7 separate regions of the Homo sapiens genome follow, and regions 1, 3, 4, 5, 6 and 7 are each linked to region 2. Evidence: promoter capture Hi-C in 16 types of primary human blood cells and fetal thymus (Javierre and others, 2016). All regions are on one chromosome and are shown on one strand. The core of a region is centred on a gene start or on the middle of the fragment in contact, and the rest is flanking DNA. Distances in the headings are between cores, read along the strand shown. Region 1 overlaps CACNA1E (calcium voltage-gated channel subunit alpha1 E). Region 2 holds the start of ZNF648 (zinc finger protein 648). Region 3 has its middle 17 kb from the start of CACNA1E. Region 4 overlaps CACNA1E (calcium voltage-gated channel subunit alpha1 E). Region 5 has its middle 35 kb from the start of CACNA1E. Region 6 has its middle 15 kb from the start of LINC01686. Region 7 has its middle 7.2 kb from the start of RGS16.

The links. Contacts are between HindIII fragments. The CHiCAGO score rates a contact against its expected background, and 5 or more counts as called.
Region 1: a fragment that was not itself captured here is called in contact with the fragment with the promoter of ZNF648 in region 2 in 1 of 17 cell types (neutrophils); the score reaches 6.3 in neutrophils.
Region 3: a fragment that was not itself captured here is called in contact with the fragment with the promoter of ZNF648 in region 2 in 5 of 17 cell types (M2 macrophages, endothelial precursors, M0 macrophages and 2 more); the score reaches 7.7 in M2 macrophages.
Region 4: a fragment that was not itself captured here is called in contact with the fragment with the promoter of ZNF648 in region 2 in 11 of 17 cell types (naive CD4 T cells, M0 macrophages, M1 macrophages and 8 more); the score reaches 11.3 in naive CD4 T cells.
Region 5: a contact is called between a fragment that was not itself captured here and the fragment with the promoter of ZNF648 in region 2, in 1 of 17 cell types (total B cells). The highest score is 5.3, in total B cells.
Region 6: a contact is called between a fragment that was not itself captured here and the fragment with the promoter of ZNF648 in region 2, in 1 of 17 cell types (erythroblasts). The highest score is 5.9, in erythroblasts.
Region 7: a contact is called between a fragment that was not itself captured here and the fragment with the promoter of ZNF648 in region 2, in 1 of 17 cell types (erythroblasts). The highest score is 5.0, in erythroblasts.

What each region holds. Positions count from the first base shown.
Region 1 is chr1:181,516,480-181,519,179 of GRCh38, reverse strand. All of the region lies in intron 3 of CACNA1E (calcium voltage-gated channel subunit alpha1 E), which reads right to left. Among named protein-coding and RNA genes, the nearest start is that of CACNA1E, 34 kb to the right of the region's middle. The HindIII fragment of the contact is 1,390 bases long and covers 639-2,028 here.
Region 2 is chr1:182,060,360-182,063,059 of GRCh38, reverse strand. ZNF648 (zinc finger protein 648) reads left to right here and starts at 1,348. Exons shown (of 2, transcript NM_001009992.1): 1 at 1,348-1,492. The HindIII fragment of the contact is 14,548 bases long and covers 1-2,700 here.
Region 3 is chr1:181,465,343-181,468,042 of GRCh38, reverse strand. It overlaps a transcript of CACNA1E not described here. Among named protein-coding and RNA genes, the nearest start is that of CACNA1E, 17 kb to the left of the region's middle. The HindIII fragment of the contact is 1,151 bases long and covers 807-1,957 here.
Region 4 is chr1:181,488,305-181,491,004 of GRCh38, reverse strand. The region is part of intron 1 of CACNA1E (calcium voltage-gated channel subunit alpha1 E); the gene reads right to left. Among named protein-coding and RNA genes, the nearest start is that of CACNA1E, 6.1 kb to the right of the region's middle. The HindIII fragment of the contact is 1,138 bases long and covers 875-2,012 here.
Region 5 is chr1:181,447,238-181,449,937 of GRCh38, reverse strand. It overlaps a transcript of CACNA1E not described here. Among named protein-coding and RNA genes, the nearest start is that of CACNA1E, 35 kb to the left of the region's middle. The HindIII fragment of the contact is 3,369 bases long and covers 1-2,700 here.
Region 6 is chr1:182,628,848-182,631,547 of GRCh38, reverse strand. No RefSeq gene overlaps it. Among named protein-coding and RNA genes, the nearest start is that of LINC01686, 15 kb to the right of the region's middle. The HindIII fragment of the contact is 178 bases long and covers 1,256-1,433 here.
Region 7 is chr1:182,595,842-182,598,541 of GRCh38, reverse strand. No RefSeq gene overlaps it. Among named protein-coding and RNA genes, the nearest start is that of RGS16, 7.2 kb to the left of the region's middle. The HindIII fragment of the contact is 2,709 bases long and covers 27-2,700 here.

The DNA of each region.
Region 1 (2,700 bases), core at 84-2,583, 540 kb after region 2:
TCGCATTTATGCCATATCCACCTCTGCTTTGAAAACATACCTGGGGATTTTCACCCCACCTCCCTCTTCCACATACACTCATGCACAAGCACAAGAATGCACGAGTTTAACTGCCTTCAAATGAGAGCTCCAGGCCCAGGAGAACGGTCTGACTTAGAAAGCACCTTGCCATAATTTCTTTCCCTGTATCACCCTGAGTGAATGCAATGCCAGGAGACAAATAAAGTCCCAAACCAAACCACCCAGGGATTTCGAAGCTTTCTTCACTCCCTCTGGCTTTTCCTCCTCTTTGGTGATATCAAAGCCAATTCAGGCCCCACTCAGTTCTGTCCATATGGAGCTTCTGTCAATGGGTGGGGGTGGCAAGAAGAAGCCTTTCAGGAAACAGAAACCATCCCAACACCAATGTCTTACATCTGGAACACAGTGTATATTCAATATATATCTGTTGAGTGAACCAATGGTGCATCTCAATATAGAAAAAAGACAGAGTGCATACATGAGAAAAAATTCCCTCCCACCCAAGGCACAATCCCAACTCAGCTGCCCATCAACTACTAACTGGCACTCTCACTAGGAGTCTCCCTGAAGTAACTGGATTTATCAGCAGCACAGAGCTAAGAAGAGACCTTTAAGCTTCACATTTTGTCTTTTGCCCACCTCTCCCTGGAATCGAAATCCTATATTCTAACCTTATCTTTTCCATCATTTGCCCATCTGGGGGGAAATGCAATTGGAACAGAAATAATGTTCTGATAAAAGGAGATGCTGCAAGTGGCAGCTGTGCTCCCCAGTGTGGAGCTAGAAATGCACAAAAAGCCAGGGAGGAGGTGGAGATCTGTCAGAGGAGCAGCCAGCAACGATGCTGAGAGGAAGAACTGAAAAGTGGTAAGGCTTACAGGCTTGCAGACCTCCCCAACATCAGCATTAATAATGCTGATGCCAGGTTTAGTGCCTAGCATTAAGGCACTAAATAAATATCTGTTCATCTAGCAGCTCAGCTAAGTATCTCTGAGTCCCTTGCCTTGCTCCACTCAGCCTCGGTTTCCCCATCTCCTAAATAACAAGTTCTCATGTCTCCTCCCTCTACCCATTCTGCCCTTGCTCCCCATCTGCATCCTTCACCTGCCCAGAACAGTAAGGACAAGTAAAAGACAGGTCTCTGAGGTCCCGCCAGGCTCACTGGCCTGGTGATGCTATATAAATACCCACTGATATCATACTATTACCACAGGGATTCAAATTGGGCTGGGGGCCTGAGGACTGCATTCACAACTCTTCCCCCACATTCTCAGCCTCAGAGAGACAGTGCTGAGGAAAACTCTGCTTTCCTCGATCTTTAGCTGCTCAGGAAACTCTTGTATTAGGGCAGCCTCTTTACAGAAAACCCTCTAAAAATACCTATCAATATATATTTAGCTCTAGATAGCATCCTCCTACCAACAGGCTTCAGGCTAAATCGTTCTGCATGTGCCACTGGCGAGAAGCTGGGGATGAGGACGGCAGCTCCCAGCTTTACTGCAGCACTCCCTGGCTCTCCTCTCCCCTGCTCCCTTTTCCTCTGCCTCCCCTCTTTCTGCTTGGCTCTGCACATTCTCCCAAACTGCAGCTAAGGATGTGGAGATGGCTCCAACTTTTTTCCATGGCTTTCCTCAGAGTTGATTCCAGGGTAAAAAAGAAAAAAGAGTTGTGCCACATCCAGAGCAGACTCAGAGTGAAACAGTGAAATAGTGAACCCCCTGCTCAAAGCCTTCCGTGGCTCCCCACTGCCCTCTGGTTAAAGTACAGACTACTCAGAATGGCCTAGACTGGCCCCTGCTGACCTCTGCAGGTCTCTCCCCATGCCACCTGCCAGGCTTCCAGAAGTGTCCTGTGGTCTGTCTGTGTGCCTCTCTCCATGTGCCACCCCCACAGGGCATTTGTACATAGCATTCTTTCTCCCAGAAGGGCTCTTCTCCTTCCCTGCCCAGCTAAGTTCCATCTGTCCATCCTTTCCACTTGTTTAAATGTGACTTCTTTCAAGAAGCTTTCCCCAGTGCCCCAGGGCCAGGCTGGACACCCTTTCACGTTCTCATGTTGCGTGGCTCCAGCCCCCACCACCATGGAAGACACTAGGCCCCATTCCACCCACACCAAACACAGTACCTGGCACACAGTGGGTATTCAGCAATAGCTCTTGAGGGGCCTCCTAGGCCCTGGGGTGATGACCTTGGCAGAGGAAGGAGGAAGAGCCAGGCACAGACACACCTGCCCCTCCCCAGAGTCTACACCATGTGCTCCGCAGTAAAGGGAAGAGCCAACGCAGGTCACCTCCCACGCAAGGCTGACAAAACTCAGGAAAGAGCATATTTTGAGCTGATTTGGGGGTTTTCTTAGGAAAATAGACAATATTACCAACACTCAAGACTAGCTCTGTAATGTCACCAATACTTTAACATACAATGGAAAACAAAGACTTCCTAGATGGAAAGGGATAACACACTTTTCTCCATTTGGCCTGAACCCAAAGAGACACAAGGGAAATAGGGAAAGGAGACTAAATTGCTCCAGCAGCACAGGAACAGCTGGTGCTGTCGCTGAGTCTGAGGCAGTGACATCACTTGGCCTAGGGAAGGTGCCCAGGTGCTAAAGGCAAACTGGCCTGGGTTCAAATTCTGACTTTACCTTATACCAACCATTTGGATTTGGACAAGTTAAATT
Region 2 (2,700 bases), core at 99-2,598:
CCATGCAGCCATAAAAAGGAACAGGATCATATCCTTTGCAGGGACAGGGATGGAGCTGGAGGCATTATCCTCAGCAAACTGGCAAAGGAACAGAAAACCAAACACCGCATGTTCTCACTTATAAATGGGAGCTGAACAGTGAGAACACATGGACACAGGGAGGGGAACAACACATATTGGGGCCAGTTGGGGGAGTGCGGGGTGGAGAGAGCATCAGGAAAAATAGCTAATGCATGCCGGGCTTAATACCTAGGTGAAGGAAGGGTTGATAGGTGCAGCAAACCAGCATGGCACATGTTTACCTATGTAACAAACCTGCATATCCTGCACATGTATCCCGGAACTTAAAATTTTTAAAAATCGTCAATAATAACAATGAAAGCAGCTAACGTTTTTGGGTACTTGCTATGTTCCAAACACCGAACTAAGCTCCTTACATGCATTATCTCATTTAATACTCCCCAAACTTCCATGATGGCAATAGTATCCTGGTCCCTGTTTTGCAGATGAGACACTAAGGCACACAGAGGTTAAATAACTTGCCCAAGATCACACAGCTAGTAAGTAGTAAGATTCAAACCCAGACCCAGACCGTGCTGTCAATCAGTATACTTTGTGACCACCTAGTGACATCACAGGAACCACACTTCCATCACCTATTTTAATGCCCTGAATGTTCATCCTAATAAATGCACATTAGACTTGAGTGGGTAAAAATTCTGAATGTACTGAGTCTTCTACCTTGGGCCAATCCTTCTCTTCAAAATGAACCTGCATGGGAATCAATGCTGAAAGTGGAAAGAGACCCCAGACAGGCCTGGCATCTGTATGCATAAGACAGAAAACCATCTCCCTGCACCCCTACTCCCAGTTAAAAGGCTGTGGGCATCTTTGAGCCAATGAATGGGCTGCTACAAAGAATTCTGGGAATCCCAACCCCTCACAGTTCTGCAACTCACAGTCCTGCAAAAGGTGGGTACTAGAATAGGGAGGTGGGCATATAGGCCAAATACTCTGTTCTGCCTTCCAGGAGGGAAAAAGCATGCTACCCAGGAAGCTCACAAGTGACATGTGGCCCATGGGCATACCAGGGCTAAAGTGAAGGATGGACTGCTCTGTGGAAGGAAGGAGTGAAAGTGAACAAGAGGCATAGGGCCACCTGCAGGAAGACTGAGAGGAGGGAAGGAGGAAGGCTGGCTTTGGCAGGGAGGGGAGGCAGGAGCAGAGGGAGCCAGAGGATCGGTTCAGGCAGTGAGAGAGGGCAGCCCCACTCTATTTCCCAGGCTGCTCTCTGGATGCAGGCAGGAAGGTTGAGTGTATTACACTGGCCCCACCTCCAGAGGCTCTCTCTGCAGCCGCTGGACTGGACACAAAGCGTGAGAGACAGAGACACCATCTCTGCTGATTTGTACCTAACTGGTTCCTGTTGCTGAGAGCCCACGTGTCACAGAAGCCAGGGCAGAGGCCCCACACTGCTGTCTGCATTTCCCAGGTAAGCAACCGTCTGTGTGTGAGCCAGGAGTGGAGAGCAAGGCCTGAAGGCGGTGAGCAGAGAAGAAAGTAGGAGGCGGCTGCCTAGGATGGACTTCAGTACAATCTGGAAAGAATGAAGGAAAGAAGAGGGGTATGGGCTGGGGTTGCAACAAGCCCTTAGGGTAGGCTTCTGCAGAGTGTTGATGGATGTATGAGGTTGGGGAGTCAAAGGCTGCATTTGGTCCACTCTTGGCTGGCAAGTGCAGAGGAAGTTCCAGCAAAGGACTGCTCTGACAGCCTCTGGGGACTAGCACATCTGGGGAGCAGAGAGGCCCGCCATACCATGGCATCAGTGTTCCTCTTTCAGACCAGGTATATTTGTGCAGACTTTGCCAGAAAATCCCTCCCTGTGCCCCTGCCTGCCTCCAGGTCTTCCTGGTGGTCGAGAGCATGCGTGTGGCAGCGACAGGAGGAAGAAAGCAGGACATATTCACTGGGGATATGGCTTCAGATGGAGGAGGGATACCTCATCTGAAAAGAGAGTCTCCTGACGGGCTCTGGAGAGGAGATTGGTTAGCTAGTGGAGGGCTGTGTGCCACCCTAAGGAGGCTCCCCTGTGGCCCAGAGGAAAAGAATGACACACAGACTGTGGAAAATGGGGTATTTGTGCTGGAGGTGGGGTGGGGAGCGGGTAAAGTCAGTGATCTGTGAACAGTGCCACAGAAACAGGCAGTATGTTGTCGTAAAGAGGGAAAGAGACCTAAGACATGTGTTTCATACAAATCCAGCATCCCTTTGCTGTCCCTGCTGGGGGACCTACAGCCCCGGATCAAGCCTGCTGGTCTGAGCAAGTTCTATGAGGTTGGCTAGTGGTATGTCCCCTCTATGAACTACACATTCACTCCCTAAGATCCACTATGCTGAAAATATGTCAGATCTGGGCTCCTGTCAAAAGGCATGCCAGCTACCCTCTGCCATGTGATGGGTGAGGGAAGCAGTGAGAGAAGAGGAGTGGTCCCTGGGCTTTAGGGCACAAAGAGACGTGAGATGCTGAATTCCAGTCACAACTGCAATGTGTCCTCCCTCCATCCATGGCTTCTGTATCCAGAGCAGAAAGTGAGGATTCCTCCATACTGCTCCCTCTTCATACACACAGGGTAACTGGGCTCATGATCAGGCAGAAACCAGGGAAGAACAGTTTAATGAGATGGGGATAGGGTTAACTGT
Region 3 (2,700 bases), core at 133-2,632, 600 kb after region 2:
GAAAAGACATGTAGAGAAGGGTGTCTTAAGCTCAGCATTATTGGCATTTCTGAGTCACATAATTCTTTGTCATAGGGGATGCCCTTGCACTGTAGGATATTCAGCAGCATCCCTGGCCTGTAGCCACTAGACACCAGATATACTTCCCCCACTCAGCTGTGACAATCAAAAATGTTTCCAAACATTGCTAAATGACCCTTGGGGCCCAAATCACCTCCCAGTTGAGACTCCTGGTGTAGAATAATTAAATAGATTGCTCTAGCTCATAGGACTCATCAACATCATGACCAGGAATGCAGGAACCCCAGTGGAATGCATTTGCCTCACTATGTACACTTTCATTTTCTCCCTCATATCTAGTAAGTCACAGCCTTTGAGAGTTGGAGTGAACTCAGAGCTGCACCTCTATTTTTCTGATGGTCTCATAGGCCTGCACAGGGCTCCATGCCTTAAGATAAAAGAAACTGAAGGGACAGCAGAGTCTGAAGGGACAACCCAAGCTGAAAAGAAAAAGTGACCTCAACCTGACATAATCAGCTTAAGGCTTATCAACTAGATTTCAAATAAATAGGATTTCTCCTGACACTTTGGATCCTAAGAAATTTGGTCACAAGCCCTGCAAAACAATGTTTCCCCCTCAAATCAGCTATGTCTGCAGTGAAAACTCCTACACTCATGCTTTCAACTCAACCCTGTGTACCCTCATCCCCTGCTTTTCATTCTGTTTTCTTTCCCTTCTTATTTATAAAGCTACAAGAAAGCTTGAATCCTTCAGCTTCTCTGGTCAACAACACCCTTTGAAAGCTTTTCTTCTAGAATTTGTCTTCACTAGAATTTGAGAACCATCTCCTTGCTTTCTGAATCTGATCTTTCGTTTCCTAAAAAGGCTCGATCACTTCAGGCAAGATATTTTTGGGAGCTGCTGGTAAGGACTTACCAATGATCACTTTTCTAAGTGAACTGCCATTAGCTAAGCACTCACGTACCATCTGAGGGGGCAGAAAGTAATTGCCCATTAATGCACTGCTGTTTCTCACCCACTTCCTTCCTCAAATCTTCCCCTGTGCTGTGTCCGGCACTCTTACTAACCTCTCCATTAGGAACATCTAGTTTCAAGTCTTAGAAGACTGTGTGTATTTCCCAGGGACTATTTTATGCTTTCCTATTTTATTCTCTTTGTAAAAGTCATTCAAGGATTCAGTACTAGAAAGATGGCAGAATAAGAAAATCTCTTGCTACACATTTCTAGAAAAACTGATAAAGTACAGAAATATATTTTCAAATATATTTGAAAAGATATATTGCTGAACTTGAAAGATATAAAAGGAAATCCCTAGGAGGAATTGAAATACAAAGGAGGAAGCGTGTGAATTGAAATTGCAGCTGTCCCATAGGCAGTAACTAGTCCTGGTAACAAAGATTTAATGGGTTGGGTTTTTTATGTGTTTTGTTTTGTTTTGCTTTGCTTTGCTTTGTTTTATTTTTTGTTTTGTTTAAGACAGAGTCTCGCTCTTTCACCCAAGCTGGAGTACAGTGGCCCCATCTCAGTTCACTGCAACCACCACCTCCCAAACTCAAGCGATTCTCATGTCTCAGCCTCCTGAGTAGCTGGGACCACAGGCACACGCCACCCACACAAGGCTTAATTTTTTTTTTTTTTTAAGTAGAAATATGGTTTTGCCATGTTGGCCAGGCTGTTCTCAAACTCCTGGCTTCAAGTGATCCACCAGCCTTGGCCTCCCAAAGTGCTGGGATTATAGGCATGAGCCACCATGCCCAGCCTAATGGGTAAGTTTTAATGTCCACTCAAGAGAAGTGATAAGGTCTTTAGACCTTATGTGGACAGAAGTTGGAACTAAGATTCTGCGCTAAGCTATAACCCTTAAAGAACTGTACCTTCAGTTAAATAAACTGCATGAAAATCAACTCTACAGCAAAAATAGATAACAAGGAAGCTTCTGTCTCTGAGTGAATGAGAAAAAGCAAAACCCTGAGAAATCAAAACTCAGGATTGTGTGTGACATGGATTTATGGGCTGAATTTACATGTTCAGCGGGATTCAGGAACACTTAGGCCAAGAAAATAACACCCCTGGGTCAAGTAAGAAAACCAAACAAAACTACTCTATTAGGCTACTCTCACAATCCTGAGTACACTGCATTTCCATGGGGAAAACAAGCACTACTAAACATGACTTGTAATCAAAATTTTTGAAGCACACAAGGAAATAATCAGCATAAGGATAAGTTAGCTAATACAAAGAACAAGAAGATTAAAGCTCCAGTACTTGAAATAATAGAAAAGATATGTAAAGAAATAAAATAATAGAATGCAATGAAATGAAAAAAAGATAATTTGAAAAAGTGGCAAATACAAAATTTCTTGTAATAAAATATATAATCATTGAAATTAAAGGCAATAGATAGGTTAACTATTAGATTATATATAACTAAGGAGAGTGTCAGTAAACAGGAAAACACATATGAGGAAACTCCACAGTATACAGCCCAGGGAGATAAAAATAGAGAAAATATGATTAAAGTTAACAGACATGGAAGACAGAATGAAGAGACCCAAAATATATCTAATGGGACTTCTATAAAGAGATCATAGAGACTGCAGAAAGACAATATTTGAAGATCTGTAGGATAAATTTTCTAGTATTGATGAAAGATATAAATCCTCCAAGTCAAGAAATTC
Region 4 (2,700 bases), core at 194-2,693, 570 kb after region 2:
CTGAGAAAGGCTCGAGAGTATTAATTTTCCTCCTAGTGCTGGTTTTCAGAGCCTCCGCTCTGGATCCAGAAGGCCACGCACGATGTCCTGCATCTCAGCAATGATGCCATAATAGACTGAGTATCATCAAGGCTCCACCCATGATCTACACCAGAGCACTTCTTCCTTTCCCCTCTAGCCTGCTACCTACCATCCAGCTACATCCTTTTTAATCCCTCCCCCAAAGGGAAGAAAGATGACACCCCCCTTTAATGACACAAGTCTTTGGAAAGCTCAGGCATATATCTGAAGGAGGCTTTCCAAATTCTCCAGAGATGAAGAGAACCGATGCAGCCCAAATGCAGCAAAAATGCAGCAAAAGACAAAATGCAGCACACACACAAAAATATAGCCTCAAGATTATGCAGAGTTGCAACAGTGATTCAAATCAACCACCCACAGGCAAAAAAAAAAAAAAAAAACATGCTTGGCACAGGTGCCAGGCAGGGCCTCTCTCTGAAGCCTCACGTGGCTGGAGCGTGGCTGGAGCCTAGCTGGGCATAGCATTCCCAAGCCCCACCCACCTGCTTCTGGGATTAACTACTGCTTTACAAATGGGTCTATTTGAGGCTCCTTTTTTTTTTTTTAATAAGTAAGAGGATTAAGGGTGGAACTATCTAGTCCTACAAATTTGGAGCTCAAGATACAATAAAGGAAGCTCCTAAGAAGTACCCACTGCTCTGGGAGGTGGCAGGGAGGATCTCTTGGATAACCGACACATTTTAAAGTCATTCATTGCTGTTCCCCTTAATCTGGCCCATCTTCACCTTATAAGAACACATCTTCTAGCTGCTCCCTGCTTTCCAGAGATGAGGACACTGGGGCTCGTCAAGCTTTATAAGGAAACATATTTGGGGTGCTCAGTGAGCAAAGATACACCATAAACATCTCTCTGCAATAACCTTAACACTAAGAAACCACGAGGTTGGGGGAGTCTAAAAACTTTGTGCTATACCTTCTGTCCTTAATTAAGATTGATGCTGGAAACATGACTGATGGGTGAACCCACACGTGCATCCTCTCTGTGCATGTTTAGAAGGCTTGGGAAAAGTAACATTGATCCAAGCCCCTCATGTTTCTATCCCTCTGTGGAAGGGACTGCTTTAGAAGCCACATCGTGGTGGTGGTAGTGGTGGCGGAGTGTTAGACACTAATTTCCATGCCTGGTCCCCATAACTACCCCTGCTCCCTGTAATTCCTGTAAAAATTCACACTGGAATTTGAAAAGAAATGGTTACAGAGGACTGTTCCTTAGCCTAGTCGTTCAGCATTTATCAGTGTGAAAACCCAAGATGATGAGAGGATTCAGAGTGACACGTACCTTCCACTTAACCACAGTCTCTGAGTAGAAAAGGCTAGTAGTTGCATATTTTGGGGGCACTCAAATGTAACAGGGCTGGGTAGGAGGCAGTCATCATAAAAATGACAAGAAAAAGCAGGTTACAAGATTTCTCCCCAGCTTCCTTTCTGTTGTGTGACAGTCCCACTGCAGAAAACAAAGGTCTTAGAGAAAAAGTAGATTCCTGAAGTTGGTCCTCTGTGAGAGACCTTAATAATCCTACCCAAGAGGAAGACAAATAACCTTCCTTTTCTGAAAATCCTAGGAAAAACCCACACATATAATGAATTATTCACAAAGGCTGAACCTAAAAATGAGAGAGGGAGAAATATAGAAAGATGAAAAGACGGGCAGAAAGAGAAAGTAAAGACCTGGTCTCTCTCTCTCTCTGAATAAATGGATATTAATTAGAGTTGCATTTAGGTTTCCTCTTTTATGTCTTTGTGGTCAGTGATAAGCAAAATAAGATCAGCAGAGTCACCATTGATGGACTGGATTGCACATCTGGGCTTTGGTGTTTGGTGAGCTGTAGCTTTCCAGGCAGCCCTGTGCATGACGTAAGGGAGGTGGCTGACCTGCTCATCAAACACATGGAGTCAAGGGTTTGCAAGAGTTCTGAGAGCTTAGCAAAGCTTCACTCAGTTTTATTTTCACTAAGAATATGAAGATTGAAAGAAACCAGATGTTCCTATAAAGAAGGGGGAAAGCAGCAGAATTTGAGGGGGAAAAACACCTACATTTTGTACAGCAGTGCTATAAAGAGATAAGTAATTTTGGATGGAGCTAATAATTTCAGAGTCTGGATGTTTCAGAAGAAAAAAAAAGCAGGCCTGTTCTCATTACTTTCCTCTTCCTCCTTTAATTCATAGCATGCACTGCGCCTATTGCAGAAAAAGCAAGTGGAGGGAAGTGGAGAAATAATGACATGCAAACCAACAGACAAAACTATCACATTGAGGATATTTTTGTCTCTATCCTCAAGTCATTTCATTTCTGTCAAATTCCTTCACTCCAACTCATTTTTCAGGCTTCATCCCAATTATAAATGGTCCCCACAACAAGTCATGGCCTGGTTTCCACATGAAACATTACCCACACTTCATATCAAAAGCAAAGCCAACAGGCAATTCAGAGATTGTCCTGGGATGCTCAGAAAATGAAGAACTTTCTCCTACAGCTCCAGTACCAGCTGCAGTCACTATCTGTTTCACCATCTGCATCCACGCACAGGTACACAGAAGATATGAACCCCTCTGCATTATCTGATCATAGGATATAATTACAGACTTCATCCTTGTTAGCTGCCATCATCTTCCCTAATC
Region 5 (2,700 bases), core at 21-2,520, 610 kb after region 2:
GACTAATATAGGCACCCTCCTATGTGCCCCTGTGCCCCTATAATACCTTATATTTCCCAACCACTCCCCATAGCAATGATAACACTATATTGCATTTGCCATTTTAATTGAGAAATAAGTTGGTCATTTTTTGTCTTTGAATATCCAAAATAGATGTTTAATCAATGTTTCCTGAAATAAAACAAAGGAATTCACAGCCTAGCACCTTCACATAAGGTCATCTGTGGATAGGCATTGGCAGTGCAACAGAAAGAAGCCCCAGATGTCTGCTCTCCTGGGGCCTCCCACCCTCCTGGATACAAACAGAAAGAAGCCAACACCACTTCATGCACACTTCTGACTCTCAATGCAGAAGCTAAGGGGGAGAAGAGATCCCAATAGACATTATAAATTCCTCAGGAGCCAGGGCCTAAAAGCAAGTTAGTAATTTGCAATCCTGATATGTCAGAGTCAGGTCAATCAATGTGCAAAGACAGAATTGTGGTGTGCTGCCAGCCTGTCAGAGCAGTACCCAAATTGGAAGAAAAGAGCAAGAATACTGAAGCAGGACATAAGCCGATCACATTATTTAAAAGTGTGTATGTGAGCACACATATATGTGTATATGAGACTGAAGTAACTGCAGCCTCCATGAGTTGGTACTGTGGCAGGCATCTCAGGGATGGAACGGCATGTATCTTGAGATTTTTCTCATTCAGACACAAATGAAGTATCTCTGGCTTGGAAACGTGAGCTTCCAAAGTGCCACAGCATCAATAGTCTACCCACATCCAAACAAACTGCACTCAAAATAAATCAATTAACACACTGCTGGGGTGTTTCACAGAATGGGAGGCCTCCAGATGTGGCCCTGCCAATGGCCCCACCAAACTTGCCGCTCATATCTGCCCCATCCTATCTCCTTGCACCCTCAATTCCTGGAAGGTCTTTCTCTGCACAGCTCCTCCCATTATGACTGAGTTGGCACAGCCACTCCAGGCCGTTCTGTGCCAGTCAACCGTGCTGGCTGGGGCAGCTTGAATTGACCAAAGGCAGCCTCTCTGCAGAGTCCCAGGCAGCCTCTCTGCAGAGTCCCAGGCAGCTGAGATGAGCAGGACAGAGGAGGCTTGGACCAGCTTTCCGACTGGTATGCCCTCCACCTGTCACACCCAGGGGAGGCCCTGCAGGGATAAGATGCCTGGTTCCACTTTAAGCCACTTAGTTGACTTAGAGCTCAGCCCCACCAAAGGCCTTGAGACAAAGTCTCTTCACTTTATCAGTTATCTCTCTTTTCCCAGGTTGTGGTAATATACAATTGGTCTGCTGCTTATCAGAGGCTGGAGTAGGGGAAATGAGTAATCTATCTACGTCAAACTCAGACTTCAAACAGACTATAACGAACCTGGAGGAAACACATACATTTAAATAAGTGATTACTTCTGAGGCTTTTAGTTGAGATCCCAGGAGAAAAAATATGATGTGGTGGAAAGAGAAACATTCAGATTTGGAATCTTAGCCACCTGAGCTTGAGTCCTGACTCCTACGTTTACTAGCTTTTGGACTTCAGGAAAGTTAGTTAATTTCTCTAAACCTCAGTTAACTCATCATCAAACAAGGATAGTATCTATCTCATCTGGTTGTTGAGATGTTAGAATGAGGGGATGCATGTGCAGATCTAGCATGAGGTTTGGCATACAGTAGGTGCTCAAAAAAAGCTAATTTACCTCCTCCCCATTGTAACCTCTAGAATTTAAATTACATGTATTGTGTTTAATGAAGAAATCATATGTGGTACACAGAATAATGTCCCCCTCAAAGATGTCTACATCATAATCCCCAGAACCTGTAAATTACGGGAACTAAGACTGCAGATGGCATTGAGGTCGCTAATCAGCTGACCTTAAAATGAAGAGATTTATCATGGATTATCATGGTCTGACTAATTACATAATCTCTTATCTAATCACACCAGCTCTTAAAAGCAGAGATGAAGAGAAAAGAGTGAGTTCAAAAGACAGAGCATGAGAAAGACCCCACCCGCTATTACTGGCTTTGAAGATGGAGAGAAGAGGCCACAAGCCAAGGAATGCAGCAGCTTCCAGAAGCATGAAAGAGCCCTTAGGTTACAGCCAGCAAGGGAAGGAAACTGCGACCCTACAGCCACAAGACTTGACTTCTGCCAACAGCCAGAAGGAGCAGGAAATACGTTCTCCCTGAGAGCCTCCAGAAAGGAACACAGTCTGCCCACACCTTAATTTTAGCCTGGGGAGGCCCATACCAGGTCTCTGCTTTACAGAATTGTAAGATAATAAATTTGGAGTTTTTTTAAACTACTAAATTTGTGGTCATTTGTAAAGGCAGTAACAGAAAAACTAAAACACTTTACTATCTATACGTAGATTTAACTGCTTTTTTTTTTTTTCTTTTTAAGAGATGGTCTCACTCTGTTGCCCAAGTTGGAGTACAGAGGTGCAATCATATCTCACTGCAGCCTTGAACTCCTGGGCTCAAGCCATCCTCCCACCTCAGGCTCCTGGATAACTGGGACTACAGGCACACCACCATGCCTGGCTAATTTTTTTTTTCTTTTTTTTTTTTAGAGATGAGGTCTTGCTATGTTGCCCAGCTGGTCTCAAATTCCTAGCTTCAAATGATCCTCCCACCTTGGCCTCCCAAAGCTCTGGGAATGAAGGCATGAGCCACCATGCCCAGTCTAGATTT
Region 6 (2,700 bases), core at 95-2,594, 570 kb before region 2:
TGAAGTCTATTAACAAATATGATTGCAGGGATTGTGAGATTGCATTAAATGAGATAATGTACATCATGACCTACTAATGCACTAGCTGTCATCCAGTAGGTGTTCAAAAATAAAGTTAATCTCTCTATTCTCCTAGCCAAGCAGGGACCTTATCATGCTTCCCATAATTCAGGATTCTTAGTGCTTTGATCCTTTAGGGCTGAATCCTAAATTGCCCACTAACTTCCTTCCATTTCTTCCCTCCCTTCCTCTACCCTCCTGCTCCACCCCAGAGCAAATAAATCTTCCCTGTCCTATGTTACAGAGTTGTGGGAACAGGATATATGAGAAGGCTTTGAGACTATTCAGTGCCCCCAGTACACTCTTGTTTTCCTGTGTGCCCTGCATTCCATCAGTGGATGAAAGAAGGCACAACTCTTGAGCCTAGGTAGCTTCCAGTCCTTTGTGAGGCTCACTCACAGGTGGAAAGGACACATGGCCATGCTCTTGGTGTTCAGAGGGGAGAGAGACTGTGTGATCTGTAATATTCTAGGAGGATACTGGAGAAGGTGGTCTGAGGTTGCACCTGAAATGACATCCATGGGCTTAATGGAAAGTATCTTGGATTGGAACTTGGAGCTATAAAATCTTGTAAAATCTTGAGATTCTCACTCACTGGCTGTAGGTGGGCAAGTTAATTAGCCTTACTGAGCCCTGCTTTTCTCATCTGTGTAATGCAACTTGGAATGCTTGGAATGTAAACTAAGCACACATACTCACAACCAACACAATGCTGGGCACAGAGTGGACATTCCAAAAACATTTGCTGAATCTGAACCCCATATCCTCTCCAGAACCCTAGTTTCCCTCTGGGAGATTGGCTGGTACACTCACTCCGACTGGAGTGGAAATGGCTTTATCTAGATTTGGCAGGAAAGTGTCACTTTGAGTTTCAATGCTGACAAATTGGTAGGACAGATAGGTGACATTTGTCATGGGGTTGGAAGCAGTTTCCTGATTCCCAACCATGCCTCCTGAGCCCCATATCCATGGGAGCAGAACGCTGGGAAAAGATGTGACAAGTCACACGCACAGGTGCCTCTTTTCTCAACCGTGTGCCACATGGAACCAAGGAAATAGGACAATCAGAGCAGTCCCAGGAGGGAAAAGAGATCACTGAACAGCAATTCTGGAGAGCCCTGATGGTGAGGGAAACTGGGGGAGAGGGCTGATGAGGGGCACTGGTGATTTTATAAACCATAGGCCTTTTAAAGCTTGTTAGGCTTGGCTGGAGAAAGTTACCTCTTTTTATCAAAAATGTGACTTAGCCCAGTCCAGCAGCATGATTCGGTCTGTGGGACAGACAGGAAGCCTGGAGTGAATTCTGCCATTTATTTTCAAAACAGAGATATACTGAACACCCATTATGTGCTGGCCAGGGTGCTAATTAAGCTTTTTATATACTTAAAAAAAAAATCTTCACAGTATCTAACCATTGAATGTCTCCAAATATTCATTTTCTAGGTAAGAAACAGACTTGCCACAGTTTCTTAGGTCAGATGGGGTTATCCAGAGATAAACAGTGAAAATGTGGGTGCAGAAACCAGGAGTGGGGGTGGAGGTGACTGATGGTGGTGGGTGTTGCCCGCTGCCACAGACAGGAAGTAAGGGCATCCTGTATCTTAGGTCACCCCTGCCTGTCTAACTCAGAGGCGGGGGTGGTGTCTGCGGATTTTGACCAGGGCACAGTTATGAGACTTCAGAGGGCAAGGTGGCTCTGGAGGTCCCCAGCTCAGTTAGAAATATCCCTGCCATTCATTACTGACCTTTCCACAGAGCCAATCCTGCCACACTATGTGGTAAATGGAGGGTGACTAATGTGTGCCCATCACAACAGCCACATTTGCATTTAGCTGAGACAAAAGCCTCAGTTACACCAAGTTGGGGATAACAGTTGGTGAGATTTTAAGCATCAGTCAGAATTTGGGAGAGAAGGAAGAGTTTAATCACAAGGCCCTTTGGGTGCCCTGCTCACCATGCAAGAGGAGCTGAATTTTGTCCTGGTTGAAAATGCGGCCTGTCTTCTCTCCCCTACCCTCCTTATGTTTGAAACTCTGGGATATTTGCTTGTCTTTGTGTCTTTGTGAGTAGGGAAGATATTTGGGAGCTCTTTTTTGAGATAAGGTATATGAAAGTGTTTTATAAATAGTAAAAGGTTACATAAGAGCAAGGCGATGCTTTTATTACTGCTTCCTATGGAGCCAGCTGCAGGAGAAGGCCTCTGATCTCACTCCCAATAGGAGCCTTTCTCCATTCACTGGAGCCTGACCCAGATTGGACACTCAGGAATACATCTTATGTAAGATTTGGCTAAATTGAACAAAGCCCATCTTTCCAGTCCACGTTTGGGTTGATTTATTTCAATTAAAAGTTTCTATTGAGTGTTCACAATGTACACAGGCACTGTATATAGCTAAAGATATAAAGGAGAATAATATATACATGATTCCTATCTTCAAGGAATTTACAGTTCAGTGGAGAGATTTTTAAAAGGGTGGAAATCCTTTTGTTAAAGAAAATTTTAGTTAAAACTCCAATACCTAAAATGAAAAGGGAGCTGCTTTGATTAAGGTGGAGGTAGAAGAAAGGAGAGGCAGAGAAGGTAGGAGAGGAGGAGGGAGGCCAGGGTGCTGTTGGCTGGACCTCACCATTGCCCCCAGA
Region 7 (2,700 bases), core at 132-2,631, 540 kb before region 2:
AATTCCACAGGACAGGCGAGTAAGCTTCCATGGCACAGGCAGAAGTACAGGGAGAGCTTGATATTCACCTGGTACCTGCCAGAGTCAAGAGAAGGGATAGGTTCTAACGAGGCTGCTATGATCAGTGACTTTTTAAGCTCGTGACAGCCCCACTTGTGTTGGGCTGTTGTGTGGATTGGACTGGGCTCAGCCCACTGTCATTTCAGAGCCCGTATCTTTTGCCCACCTGGCTGGGACTCGGCATGAGCCATTTCCAATTCTGCCTGTAACAGTGCAGGGGTCAGTACCCCTTGGTCAAGTAGCAAGACATCATCAGTTAGGTGGTGACTTTTGTAGGATTTTTACTTTTAAAAGTAATTTGTAATTAAATTCAATTACAAATCTTTTGTAATTTATATTCAAGAAATTATTATTCTTTTTATAATTTCATAGAAGTATCTGAGATGAGGTATATGAAGCCACTCTGTACATGAGGCTGCTCCATTCCATGGGCCAAGGGAATAAGGGTTGAACTGTGCTTGAAAGAATTTGGGGGTACGGAGACAGGCGCGGTGGCTCATGCCTGTGAGCACTGAGGGAGGGAGGCTGAGGAGGGTGGATCACTTAAGCCCAGGAGCTCAAGACCAGGCTGGGCAACATGGCAAAACCCAGTTTCTACAAAAAGTCAAACATTAGCAGAGTGTGGTGGCACATGCCTGTAGTCCCAGCTACTTGGGAGACTGAGGTGGGAGGATGGCTTATGCTGGGGAGGTCAAGGCTGCCATGAGCTGAGATCACTCTACCGCACTCCAGCCTGGGGGACACAGTGAGACCCTGGGGGTAGGTTTGCAAGGATCAAAATCTGTTCTTCCTCTGCTAATTGCCTGCTTGTTCTCCTTTTTCATCCTACTGAATCCCTCTCATTTTTTTCTGATTACGACTACTTAAAAAAATGTTTTCTTCTCTGTTGAATGATCTGTTTATACACAGATCTGGACCTTAAATGAACCTTTATTTCTTCCCTATTGATAGTCTGAGTAAAGTGATCAGACTTCAGGAACATGGGGTAGAAATCCCCATAGAATCACATCTTAAGCACAGATCTAAGGAGGGATTCTGTGGGTGACACCAGGGAGGATCCTGAAATTAAGGGCCTGGGAAGGAAGACAGGGACCAACACTGTGGCAGGCCCTGAGCTCTGTTAGTCCTTACAACAGCTCTGTGGAGTGGGTCTGAACACTTTATCATCCAGAGAAGGAAACAAGCTCTGAGAGGGAGGGACATGCTTGGGGCAGCCAGCCAGTGAGTGGCAGAATGGGGATCTGAACTCAGTTATGCCATGGGGAGTCCAGTCTGTGAAAGATGGGTGGAGGAATGTGACTGATAAGGGAAGGAAGAGCGGAGGACCCAGAAAGACAGGGAGGTACTAACACTCGCCCTTTCCTACTGCTCTCCTTCCATCTTTATGCCTTTAACATGCATGTATTGAGTGCATCGAAATCCCTCAGACCCAAATGCGTTGGGTCCAGCTTCTGCACAGGCTCACCAAGGCTTCCTTAGAGGACTCTCTCATCCTCTCCAATCAGATACCACAATTTCCCGGCGGGTCTCCCTACCCCAGCCTCTCCCTGTGCTGGTTCATTTTCCACACTGTGCCAGTCTTCAGCTCTAAAGCACAGATCTGAGCACTTTGTGGCTACGTTAGAACCCCTCAGCGGTTCACTTTTGACTCTAAAATAAAGTCCAGCTTTAATCCTGACACACAAGGGGGTCTCTGACCTGACCCAAGTCCCTCTCCAGACGTATCTCCTGCCTGGACAGCCTTCATTCTCAGACTTTTCCCTTCTCTCTCTCTCTCTTTTTTTTTTTTTGTGGCTACACATGCTGTTCTCTCTGCCTAGAACACCTCTTTCTCCTCTTTTTTAGAAAAAATTGGGGGTTGAGGTGCGAGGAGGAGAATGCCAACTTTCAAAATCCAGCAAAAACATCACCTCCTCAGTGAAGCCTTCCCAGATGTCCCTGTACAGAGTTAATTGCTCCCAACTTGCATGATTCTAAGACACAGTGTTCTTACTTTGATTGTAGCACATATGGTATTCCTCCATAACTTCTTTCTTCATGGCTTTTGCTCTCCTATTAAACTGAGCTCTTCAAAGTCAGGGTCATATTATTCACCTTGGTGAGATGGGGCAGAACAGACTACAGCAAAGCAGTTCTCCAGTCCCAGCTGTGGAGCCGGAATGTTGGGTTGGAATCCTGGCCATTCACCTTGGAAAGTTGCTTAAGCCTCAGCTGTAAAATGAGGATAATAAGAGTAAGCGTCACAGGGAACACTGAATGAAATAAAAGTGTGCGGCACAATGTTAATGCCTCATGACTATTGGCTATTATTATTATCTGATTCCCAGTACTTAGCACAGTGATTTGTATACAGTAGGCATTAGTCAAGTCAAAAAGTCTTTTGACTTCTTGAATAAAATGGCAGGATCAGAATTTCAACTCAGGATTCTAAATCTACTTTTTTTTTTAGCTGCTTCAGTACCATATTTTGTCTGATGTTTACAGCATTCCAGAATTTCAGAAAAAGAAATGGAAGGCTGGAGGCATTAAGTAAGCCAGGGTATTAGAGGGACCATGGGATTCCTGGAAACCAGGTCAGCCAACGCTGTTTTCAAATATGTGCCCTGTGACTGTGCGAGGCTGCTTGTCTCTCACCCTCTA